Linked DNA regions of Homo sapiens: region 1 is linked to region 2. The links are contacts of gene promoters, found by promoter capture Hi-C in human tissues and cell types (Jung and others, 2019). All regions are on one chromosome and are shown on one strand. The core of a region is centred on a gene start or on the middle of the fragment in contact, and the rest is flanking DNA. Distances in the headings are between cores, read along the strand shown. Region 1 overlaps LOC105375130 (a long non-coding RNA gene). Region 2 holds the start of LFNG (LFNG O-fucosylpeptide 3-beta-N-acetylglucosaminyltransferase).

Region 1 (6,158 bases), core at 1,387-3,886, 580 kb before region 2:
TTTTTTCCATCTGTGTCTTATCCAGTGGTGTTTTGTGAGCCCCCAAAAGGAAGGCTTTTTATCTAGTTCCTAATGTACTTGACCATGGAACCTTTTTTCCATGTAGAATCTCCTTCCTTCAATCCCAAAATATCATATATCTACTTTGTGGCAGGCACCATGATGGATCCTGGGAATGATGATAATGAACGCAATAGATACAGCCTCTATTCTTAGACATCTTGCATGTATCAGGGAAGACAGGCACCAAGGCATACTTACAACCAAAGCATTCCACGACCATGTGATCCAGGAGAATTCCAGGGTCAAGAGCCAGGGTATTGGAAGCCAACCTGTCTACAGGTGACCAACACTGAACTTACTTTGGGAAACACTGTTCTAGGGTAAGAGGTCTCATGTATTTTTGGTGGGGAGATCTTTTCATGACTGAAAGACTCAAAAGGCCATTTTTATCCTCTGCCGTTGCATATTCTTCTAGAAGAATGTTTCTGCTTCTGTGAGATGCAAAAAAGCAATGTTCAGATTTGTATTACCTTTATACGCAAATCATTTCACATCAGGAACGAATGCAGCACTTTCAAATTGGGAGTCACAAAAGCCTGCTGAAAGGTGTTTGTGGAGTGCAGGGTGGGAAGGTCCTTGTATTAGTTCATTTTCACACTGCTGATAAAGACATACCCAAGACTGAGTGATTCATAAAGACAAAGAGGTTTAACGGACTCAGTTCCACATGGCTGGGGAGGCCTCACAATCATGGCAGAAGGCAAAAGGCACGTCTTACATGGCAGCAAGCAAGAGAGAATGAGAACCAAGCAAAAGAGGTTCCCCCTTATAAAATCAGACCTCATGACACTGATTCACTACCATGAGAACAGTATGGGGGGAAACCGCCCCCACGATTCAATTATCTCCCGCCGGGTCCTCCCACAACACGTGAGAACGATGGGAGCTACAATTCAAGATGAGATTTGGGTGGGGACACAGCCAAAGCATATCAGTCCCTGTTGCTGGAATGCTGGCCGAGAATCCTGGGTTCATATCCCAGAACCACCAATGAGCTAGTTTCTCCCACAATAATCCTAGCCACTTCCTTGTCCAGATATTTTAAGATGAGAAAAAAAGAAGACTGATTCTTTCAGTGACCAAAATCCACCTGGGTGTACAGGCTACCATCTCTCTGGGGGGACTCGGAGGGGTTTTCTAGCTCTTTCCAGCCTCAGATCCCATCCCAGGAGTACACAGTAAAACCGGACATGGAGTAGGAGGAGGAACCCTGATGATATTCAGGAAAACCCCCTCCTGGTGAGCAGACCGTCTTCAATTCAGTAAACCGAAGACTGATCTTGTCACATTCAGATGTGTAATTAATGCCTGCTACATCGCGAAAAGCATCTATACCAGGTAGACAGTAATTTACTTTCCCATAAAACTTTAACACTTTTGCTAGAAACACTATTTTTTTTTTCACAACACATTGAAAGACTATTATCCAGGCAGCCTCTCTTTCGCAGGGACGTAGGGAGGGAAAATCTTTTAAGGGACTGGCATTCCATATTGGTACTTGAGCGTCTTGGCAGTGGGACGCATCGCCCTCTCACAGGGGTGACTGCCTGACTAATGAGGTCGCCCCCAGCAACATCCACATTTTAGACTGTATTGTGTGAGCTGCCCCAAATTGAGGTGATCTCCTGTCCAGACCAGGCTGTACTTTGGTTATTTACTTGCAATGAGATATCAAGAGACTGAAAGTGGTTTAAAAAAAAAACAAAAATCTCTTCCCTAATATATGGTGTATTATTATTATTATTATTATTATTATTATTATTATTTTGAGATGGAGTCTCACTCTGTTGCCGAGGCTGGAGTGCAATGGCACTATCTCGGCTCACTGCAACCTCAGCCTCCTGGGTTCAAGCGATTCTCCTGCTTCAGCCTCCTGAGTACCTGGGATTACAGGCATGCATAGCCACCCCTGGCTAATTTTGTATTTTTAGTAGAGACGGGGTTTCTCCATGTTGGTCAGGCTGGTCTTGAACTCCTGACATCAGGTGATCCGCCTGCCTCAGCCTCCCAAAGTGCTGGGATTACAGGCGTGAGCCAACACGCCAGGCGTTTCTGTTTGTTTGTTTGTTTTATTTTTAGTAGAGATGGGATTTCACCATGTTGGCCAGGCTTGTCTCAATCCTCTGACCTCAAGTGATCCACCTGCCTTGGCCTCCCAAAGTGCTGGAATTACAGGTGTGAGCCACTGTGCCTGGCCTCACATCTCCTCCTTTTAACAGGATAAACTAAACAGGCCTCAAGAATGTGACCTCCCACGCTCCTCCATGAACAGCTCTCTCCCTGCGTCCCAGCAACCAAAGACACTTGTTGATTTGGGAAAAACCCAGAGGAAGGATTCTGTCTGGATTTTCTGGTACCACTGACGCATTTTCACCCAGGCACATTCATCTGGTTCAAGACTGAATCTTTCCCTTTTTCATGAAACAGATTCTCCCCCTCTTTTAAGCCTCTGTGGGCTCCAGAATGAGTTGAACCGCTGTATCTTCTCATCACAGCGTTTCCCTCTTTGGACATGGGCTGAGACACACAGATTTCACGACTTCCTCTTTGGAGAAGGCATGAAAGGACCTGCAGCCACGGCCCCATACGTTTCAAGAGAGGCAAGGCTTTCACCCTCCGTGTCTTTCACAGCCATCCGCCCACAGCCTCTTAACTTCCTGACATTAAACAAAAACGAAACCGAGGTTTCCCTAATTGGGGATCATCATCAAGAATCTGTCATGGGGTCTCTTAGAAATTAATTCAACTCGATTGTTCTTCAGACCTCCGCTAAGGAGCCGGCGTGTTACTCTCGACACCAACTTGTCCCATCTTCATCCTATATTAGCTCCCTAACAGGGTTGCACGATCAGCTCCTAGGCTGCAAATTAGAAAAATGGGCGATGATTCCAGCAGCTACGCCTCGGCACTCTCACGCCGGATTACTGTGATGGTCTCCTTGCAAGGCTTCCGGATCTTTCTATGTGGGTTGAAATTGGTTCCAACTGTAACTTCCTGTTGATCTCCCACCCTGAATTCCCTCATTGATGCAACATTTTGTTAAAAAAGAACTTCACCGAATTACCCATTTCATGGAAATTGCAATAGGGTATTGACTTGTATAGTTAATGAAGCTTTCAAAAAAGCACTCCTGTAGCCATCATCTAAATGCCCCTCTGGCCACCAAAACTGTGCATGTAATTCACTGTAGTGAGGATTCCTGAGTCTCCCTAAGGGAGATCCAGTAGGATCAGTTCTGGGTGGGATCCGTCAGCAAACACAACCTATTGCCCGCCTCCTTCTGGTTTCCAGTCCCGGGGGGTAATTGATGTCTTAGTGCACACAGAGCCGGACCATGGAGCTAAGTAGATATGGGTTTCCAACTCATCCCGGCCACTTCCCAGGGGCATGTCCAGGGGCAAGTTAGTAACTCTCTTGAACCTCAGTTTCCTCATCTGCAGAGTGTGGATCATCACAAACCTACCTTCTGGGGTTGCTAGGGGATTAAAGGAGATAAGGAGCATAGCAGGGCTGGCCCTGTGCCTGCCTGGAGTGGGCACCAAGCTGACTTCGCTGGGGCTCTCCCGGCCCCACATACCTGCAATGGTTTTGCCTTTGGCTCGATGTCTGAAGCCTTTGCATTTCTGAAGGGAGTGATGTAAATCAAGCCATGCTTATGATTAAAAACATCCAACGTTCAGCTCAGTTGTTTGTCCTATTTTGGCAACATCCTATTCTTTTGTTGTTGCTGTTTTTGAGATAGGATCTTGCTCTGGGGCCCAGACTGGAGTGCAGTGGTACAATCATGGCTCACTGCAGCCTCAACCTCCTGGGCTCAAGTGATCCTCCTGCCTCAGCCTCCCGAGTAGCTGGGACTATAGGTGTTCACCACCATGCCTGGCTAGTTTTTTAATTTTAATAGAGATGAGGTCTCATTATGTTACCCAGACTGATTTCAAACACCCAGGCTCAAGTGATCCTCCCACCTCAGCCTTCCAAAGTGCTGCCATTACAGGTATGAGCCACCACACCTGGCCAACCTTCTCCTCTTATCTGTGGGAAACCTTGGGGCATTACTGAAGAAAAAATTGTGATGTCCAAATCCTGCACTGTACCCCAGTGCAAGGTGGTAGGTGTTGAAGTAGAAAATGATAAGACGTAAATCGTCAGCAAAAGCCAAAGAGAGAGGTAAAAAATGTATGAGCACTAAATGAATTGATTTTCATAAAATTAGCGTTATACTGTATAATAATGTTTCCCAATATAAAGTCTTTTTCATATTAATATTTATAACATTGTAAAGATTAAATCATACCTTTGTGATTATTTTAATTTTTTTTAACCTTATTCTGTTCCAAAGATAAAGCTTGGTTGTGTTTTTTGTGTGTGTGGGGGGGGGGTTTGGGTTTTTTTTGGCCTTTATCTTTAGAATGTTCTAGTGACATTCTGAATTCTTCCAACAGGGCGATATTGTTATTTTAATAATGGTTATGCACAACACATATAGGAATCTGTCATGGAGTTGGTGGGAATGAAAAGGCTACTTAGATACCCAGCTTGAAAAGCTTTCATGTTTTTATGTTTAATTTGCAACAATCTTCCTTCTTTGCACAGGAGGTGATACATTACTGAAATAGGAGATCAGGCCAGGTGCGGTGCCTCACGCCTATAATCCCCACACTTTGGGCAGCCAACGTGGGAGGATCACTTGAGCTTCAGAGTTTGAGACCAGCCTGAGCCACATAGCAAGACCCCCCTTTTCTACAAAAAAAAAAAAAAAAATTAAAAATTAGCCGAGCATGGTGGCATGCATCTGTGGTCTCAGCTACTCAGGAGGCTAAGGCAGGAGGATTGCTTGAGCCCGGGAGGTAGAGGCTGCAGTGAGCTATGATTGAACCACTGCACTCCAGCGTGGGCAACAGAGCAAGACCTTGCTCTAAAAAATTAAAAAAAAAAAAATAGGAAGGAAGAAAATAGGAAATCAACCAATGCAGCTCTCACCACCTCCTACATCCGGTTCTGGGGTTCTGGGTGGTGGGGCGCCTGCGTCCTGCTGTAGGGTCAGGACAAACAGGCATGGCTGCACAGCTGTGCTCCCCCTGGCTGGCTCCCGCAGGCTCCCAATGCCTTTGGGAGGTCAGCCTCTCAAGCTGAGTGCCCAGAAACTACACAAACCCCAACAGGCCGTGCAGGAAATGAGACCCACAGCCACGTCACCAGCCTCATTTTTGCAAGCTGATGGAGGTGGGGAAACCCTACCCTTCTTCCTTTAGCAGCAATAGCTTTTCTTTTTTTTTTTTTTATCATGCTTTTTTTTTCATACTTACCAATATTTTTAAGTTTGAGCTTCATTTCAAATTTTTGACCTGAGTAATGATGCCATGCACACAGTTTGCCCAATCTTTCCCCAGCTACCTCTTGGGTCCTATATTAGTATGCTGGGCCTGCCACGACAAAGTACCACAAACAGGGCAACTTAAACAACAGAAATGTATGGCCTCATGGGGCTGGAGGCCAGAGGTCCAAGATCAAGGTGTTGGTAGGGTTGGTTCCTTCTGGGGGCAGAGAACCTGCCCCAGGCCTCTCCCCAGCTCCCGGTGGTTCTCCACAATCTGCAGTGATCCTCGACTTGTAGACGCATCCCTCTGATCTCCACCTTCATCCTCACGTGTGCTCTCCTGTGTGTCTGTGTCCAAATTTCCCTTTTCATGAAGACACTAGTCATCTTGGTTTAGGGCCCACCCTAAGAACCTCATCTTGACTTGATTATCTGCAAAGACCCTGTTTCCAAATAAGATGGCATTTGCAGGCATTGGGGGTTAGGACATGATCTTTTGGAGGTTTAACATCGTTTGTGGGGACATGATTTAGCCCTGACAGGCGCCCTCCTTGCCTGGGTCTCTTCCGTCACCACCCAGTGCAGGCCGTGAGCTCGCTCCATCTGACTTAGAGAGCCCATCCCCTCCTCCACTCTGTACTGTCTCTGATCCCTTCTCCTGCCGGAGGGTGGAGGGGTGGGTGCCCCAGGAAGCAGACTCAGAGAGGGAGGAGACTGTGCAGGAGATCTGTCAAGGGGTTCTCTTAGGACTGGCATCCGGGGAAGGGAAAAGTACAGA
Region 2 (5,301 bases), core at 2,802-5,301:
GAAACCTCAGGTGTCCCCAGCCCCCAGGTCAGGGGCCCCCAGTACCCATGCAGCCCAGCACCCCTCCCACTGCTCAGGCAAGGAAACCCAGGCTTGCCCAAGGCCACAGCCCACCTGTGCCAGCACGCGGCCGCCCCCTGCCAGGAGCGCTCTGCGGAAGAGGAGGGGGCCGCCAGGGCGGGGCCAGGAGTCGCCGGCGCCCGCCTGGGCCTGCCGGCACACGGGGAGGAATGTTCCTTCCTCTGCCCGGCCCGCCCAGCGCGTGCCGCCCGGCGCACCCTGGCATGGCTGAGTGCAAAACCCAGGGTGTACGGGCAATGCTCTGACCAAGGGACAACCCCCTGATGCCCACCCAGCCTCAGTTTCCTTCCCTGTACACACAGGTCCCGCAGAGGCCCTGGAACACCTTGGTAGTCTCAGATCCTTATCCAGCCTGACCCAGCCCTGGGCACATGCTCACTAGGGTGAGGCCCAGAGCTAAGGGGGTGGCAGGCTGGGTCTCCGCCTCTCCATGCATGCACCCCTCCTGCAGCACCCATAGACACCCCAGGGCAGCCACACGCACAGACTCGCACCCAGCCCCTTGGCCTCCCCAGAATCTCAGCCCAGGAATGCCGTGGGAGGCGGAGGGCCAGCCCCTGCAGACGCTCCACTGCGCCGCTGGGTTAAAAGGAAAATGCTTTCTTAATGAGATCAAGGGAGGCCTGTTCTCCCGAGATTTGGTGGTGCCCTAAAAACCCAGCCCAAGGCTACGGAGATTAAAGTCACCTTTGTTCAGCTCAGGGAGCAGGGAGGCCTCTAGAACAGCATCTGAGAAGGCGGGGCTATGGGGTGCGGGGGTGCCGGTCGAACTGTCTCCCGACACCTGAGCCACCAGGAGGGGAGGAAAAAGGCGCTGCTGGGCTATAGGCCTCACCTGCCGCTCAGAGCCTCAGTCTCGTCTTCAGTAAAATGGGCATAACAGAGCTCCCCTGGGCAGAGAACAAAGTGCAAAGACAGATTCTCTCCCTTCCTCTCCCTGACAGCCCTCGGAGGTGGGTGCCATTACCAGCTGAGGCCCAAGTGGGGAAACTGAGGCCCAGAGAGGTGCAGGCACCAGCCTGAGGTCATACCCTGGGGCCGAGGCGGTGCTAGACCAGCCCAGTCCCTGCCTTCTAGGGACCCAGACCCCCCAGTGCCACCTAACTTTCCAGACGAAGACGGGGCTGCAGGAGGAAGAGCCGGGTGGATGAGGGTGGACGGGGGCGGGGGCCGGGGGACACCCACAGGAAGCAGCATTGTTCCTGGAGCCGCGATTCAAAGAAACACAGGATGCCAAGTTCTCCCCAGCAATTGTGGCCGCTGTGGTGGCAGCGCGGCAGCCTGGCTGCTCCTGGGAGGGGCGGGGAACCTCTGGGCCAAAGGCCAGGCTCTTCATCCTGGACTCCAGGCCCATCTCAGCGCGGCCCCTGCTGACCAACCGACCCTCCCCCCAGCCACCACTCCAGTTGCTAGAAGTTTCCTGCACAACCCCCATGCTGTGGTCATCACCATGCCCGGATGGAGTGCCCTTTCTGGGCACTTTTTTACTCTTAGTCTAGCTCAAATGGCGCCTCCTCCAGGAAGTCTTCCCTCCTCCCTCCCTTCCCCCAGCATGTGGGTCAGATGCCCACTGTTGCCTCACACAGCCTCTCGGGGTTTTCCCCCCGCACAGCCCTGACATCTTTCTATCTCCCCCATCAGACCATGTCTGAGTCATTCCGTGCAGGGCTGGGAGAGGGGGGCCCTCTTCTGTGGGTTTCCAGGACCCCTGCCCATCACCCACCACAAGGGGGTCTTTGCTTGCTGTGTGCTGGTGAACTGATGCTGAGGGCAGATTCAACCTGTCCCCTGGTGGGGTGACCCTCCAGTAGGGACCTCAGGGCTCAAGGGAGTGATGGCCCCCACCTCGACCCTGAGTGCCCGCCGGGTTCACCCCATGCCTGCAGGCTTTGCCAGTCTCTTACAACGTGCTCCTGGAAGGACCATGTTCCCCCATTTCAGAGATCAGAGTGAGGGTCTGAGAGGCCCCAGGTCTTGCTCAGGATCACACAGCCCAGCCCTCTGACCACATCCCCTCTGTTGGAGAAAGGCCCCAAATTCCAAGATGAGAGGTGCTCAGAGCTGGTGGTAGCCCAGAGTGGGGCTGAAGGATGCCCAAGATCACATAGCAGTAAGGCTTGAGTGCTGGGGGTGGGGGGGCCAGGCTCAGGGATGGTGCCCCAAAAGGACTGTCAGTAAGAGATGCTGGGGGGGCCCGCTGGTCCCCTCATCGCCAGGCAACCTGAGTGGCCAGCACGCCAGCAGCGGTTCCCACGGAGCGCGTAGCTGCACACAAGGGGCCCGACGCCTTTCTCGCTGGAGAAAGGGGCTTTGTTACCTTGCCCAAGGGGCCGGCGTGAGAGCCGCCCGGCGCTGGGAATCCTAACGGCCCGGCCGCCAAACAAAACCCACGGCCCCCGCCGCCCCCTCCCGCCAGCCCGCTGAGCCCCTGGGAATGGGACGCTGTGTTCCCAGGAGGCTGCCATGGGGTTCCCAGGGCCCCTTCCCCACGCCAGGACCAGGGAGGACCCTGCCCCTCCCCGTCGCCCTCATGACCTCACCAAGCCCTGCTCCCACCCACCCACAGTGCCCCAAAACAGGACAGCGCCAGGTCAGAAGGCCCTGGGTCTCCGGGGTTTGAGCAGGGAGGAAGGCGTGCAGGGTCTTCCCTGAGCCCCCACCCTCACAGCAAATGCCTCTGCATCTCCCAGCCCAGAGACACCCCCCCAGTCCCCGACTGCAAGCCCCACACACTGTCCCCATCCCGCCCCAGCCCAACCGTCCTGCTGTGGCCTCGAGGGAAATGTTCAAAGTGGGGTGTGTCTTAATTATGTGTGTGTAAGAAGCTGATGCCCAACTGAAGTGGGCTGTGCCCAAGGTTGCAGGCCTCAGAGACTACTGCACTGTGCGGGGAGGGTCCCCACACAGACCCCAAAACCTGGAGTTCTTTGAGATGTACTCCCCAGGACCCACCAACCAGCAATGACTTCCCTCCCTCCCCGTACCTTAACACTGTGATGAGGAAAGGGCCCAGAGGTCAGAACCCCTCACTTCTCTAAAGGAAGAGCCTTTCTCCCCAGGAAGGGGTCTGAGCTGAGGGTGGGTCCGAACAGAATTTGCTTGTGGAAGTTTGAGGACATAATGCCCTATGAATGCGCTCCAATGTTTACGGGGTGAGAAGTATCACAGGGCACCAACCCCAAGCACTGGAGACTGGTGTAGGGTCCTGCAGCCATCCAGGACTCTGGAGCTGGACAGGAGGCGGGGCCCCGGGGACAGTAACACAACTGTAACGGGAGAGTGGCCCCAGCAGGCAAACTGGGTGCACCGGGGTGCACTGGCGTCGCCCACAGATGGCCCTAGTGGCTGGATGGGGATGCAGCCTGACTCCCATGGGACACTGCCACCAGCTGGACCAGATGGTGGGTCCCCGCCCCGCTCGCCCGCCAGTCCAGGCCGCGGGGGGCTCACCATCTCCTTGTGGCGCGAGATCCAGGTCTCCAGCAGCAGGTCGAGGCGCGCGCGGTGGAACTTTTTGGTGGTCTTGACAGCGATGAAGACGTCTCGGGGCGCGAGCGGCTCGGCCAGGGGGCGCGGGTGGCCGTCGGCGGGGCGGGGGGCAGCCCCGGGCGGCGGGCCCGCATCTCTGCGCGCGCGGGTGAGCAGGCTGAAGTACTCGGACAGACTGTGCACGTCGCGGACCAGCGCCCCGGGCGCCGCCGCCGCCGCCCCCAGCCCGGGCGCCGGGGCAGCCCCCGCGGGGCCCGCCAGGCTGCGCAGCGCGCGCCGGCCGCGCTCGGCGGGCAGTGGAGGCGGCGGCGGGTCGGCGGTGAGCACCAGCAGGCAGGCGAGCAGCGCGCCCGCCAGCGCCAGCAGCAGGCGCCGGCCGCAGCGCTTGAGCATGGTGGGGTGGCGGCCGCGCGGCGCGCCCTTCCCCGTGCGCCTGCCTTGCACCGACCCGAAGCCCGTCGCTCCGGCGGCGCAGTCCAGCAGCGCAGCACCAGTGTCCCGCGCTCTTAAACCTCCCCGCCCCGGTCCCGCCCCCGTGCGCTCATTGGCTCCCGGGCTCGGGGGCGGGGCCTCGCGCCGGTCGCCGCTCCACGCCCGCAGACCCACGTGGGGCCGCGGCTGGGGGCTGGGAACTGCCCAGAGGGCGCAGCGGCCCCGCCCCCGGCGCGCACGTGCACGCCCCGCACCCCCCCCGCCCCGGGTAGCCCCTGCGGGCCGCCGAGGGGCTTGGGGACGGGCCCGGCCCGCGCCGGTGTCCCTGAAGAGGAAACCCAGCCTGGCCAGCGCCGTCCGGGGATGCACCGGGCGTCCCGGCACGGGAGGGGCGCGCCCTCGGCGCAGCGGGCAGGGTGCTGAGACCCGGGCTCTGGGCTCCGACGCACCGCGGGGGACATCCTACTTCCTCGCTGTGCGCTTCCCCTCCTGAGCACGGCTTCCTCCCCTTGGGACGCGGCAGGCCTTGCAAACTGGGGTGGCGCCTGGGTCTTCCCGAGCGCTCGGTTCAGGGGAGCCGTTATTTGTACAGAGCAAGAGCTTGGCCACCTGTGCCGCAGGTGGGGACACGAGGTTCTAACGAGAAAGCACCAGAACCAAATTCCACTCCTTCCTCCCTGGCTGATTTCCTCGATCCTGGCCCTCCGTCGGGAGGGTTGGCTCCCCGAAATCCTCAGGCGCCCCATGGCGAGGAGAAACGAAGGCCGCCACTTCCCTCGCCGGATGAAAGGCCGCCTTCTGTCCCATTTGGTCTCCTTGCGCTCGGGCCAGATGCGGCCCAGCTGTGCGCCCTCCCCACCCCGCCTCCCCGGCACACGGCCCCCATCCCCGGCCCTTCCCACGGGCCCGGGCCCGCCCCTCGCACGAGCGGGGGCGGCAGGAATGCGCGCCGGCAGCCGAGGGTGAGGGGCGAGGGGCCCGGAAGTGGCCAAGGGTCGCCTGAGCAGGGTGTGAGCCCCCTGCCCGCCACGTCCTCCGGAAGCGTGGACGGAGGCGGCTCTGCCCGTGGCTGCGCTGTCTTCCCGTGCCCTCCTAAGCAGGGTCTCTGCGACCACCACGACCACCACCGCCACCACCGTGGCTAAACTGCCCCCCTCGGAGTTATGTTCACGCCTGAGATGGCATTTTAAATTCTTTAAGTGCCCTTGGAGCCCCTCTCCTTACCTCTACCTGAATGTCAGCCGCAAGACAGCAGCGACCTGGTGTCATTCAGACCTGGAACAGGTTTTGGGACATAGT

Evidence for each region. Contacts are between HindIII fragments. The study calls those that stand out against the background at their distance.
Region 1: a contact is called between a fragment that was not itself captured here and the fragment with the promoter of LFNG in region 2, in 1 of the 25 tissues and cell types used here (lymphoblastoid cells).

The regions. Positions count from the first base shown.
Region 1 is chr7:3,091,710-3,097,867 of GRCh38, reverse strand. LOC105375130 (a long non-coding RNA gene) reads left to right here. Exons shown (of 2, transcript XR_007060191.1): 2 at 2,283-3,742. Among named protein-coding and RNA genes, the nearest start is that of CARD11, 51 kb to the right of the region's middle. The HindIII fragment of the contact is 3,745 bases long and covers 764-4,508 here.
Region 2 is chr7:2,518,524-2,523,824 of GRCh38, reverse strand. It overlaps LFNG (LFNG O-fucosylpeptide 3-beta-N-acetylglucosaminyltransferase), which reads right to left and starts at 4,051. Exons shown (of 8, transcript NM_001040167.2): 1 at 3,532-4,051. The coding sequence starts at 3,963. RefSeq lists enhancers at 336-848, 1,715-1,774, 1,815-1,944 and silencers at 3,876-3,985, 3,996-4,525. The HindIII fragment of the contact is 23,923 bases long and covers 1-5,301 here.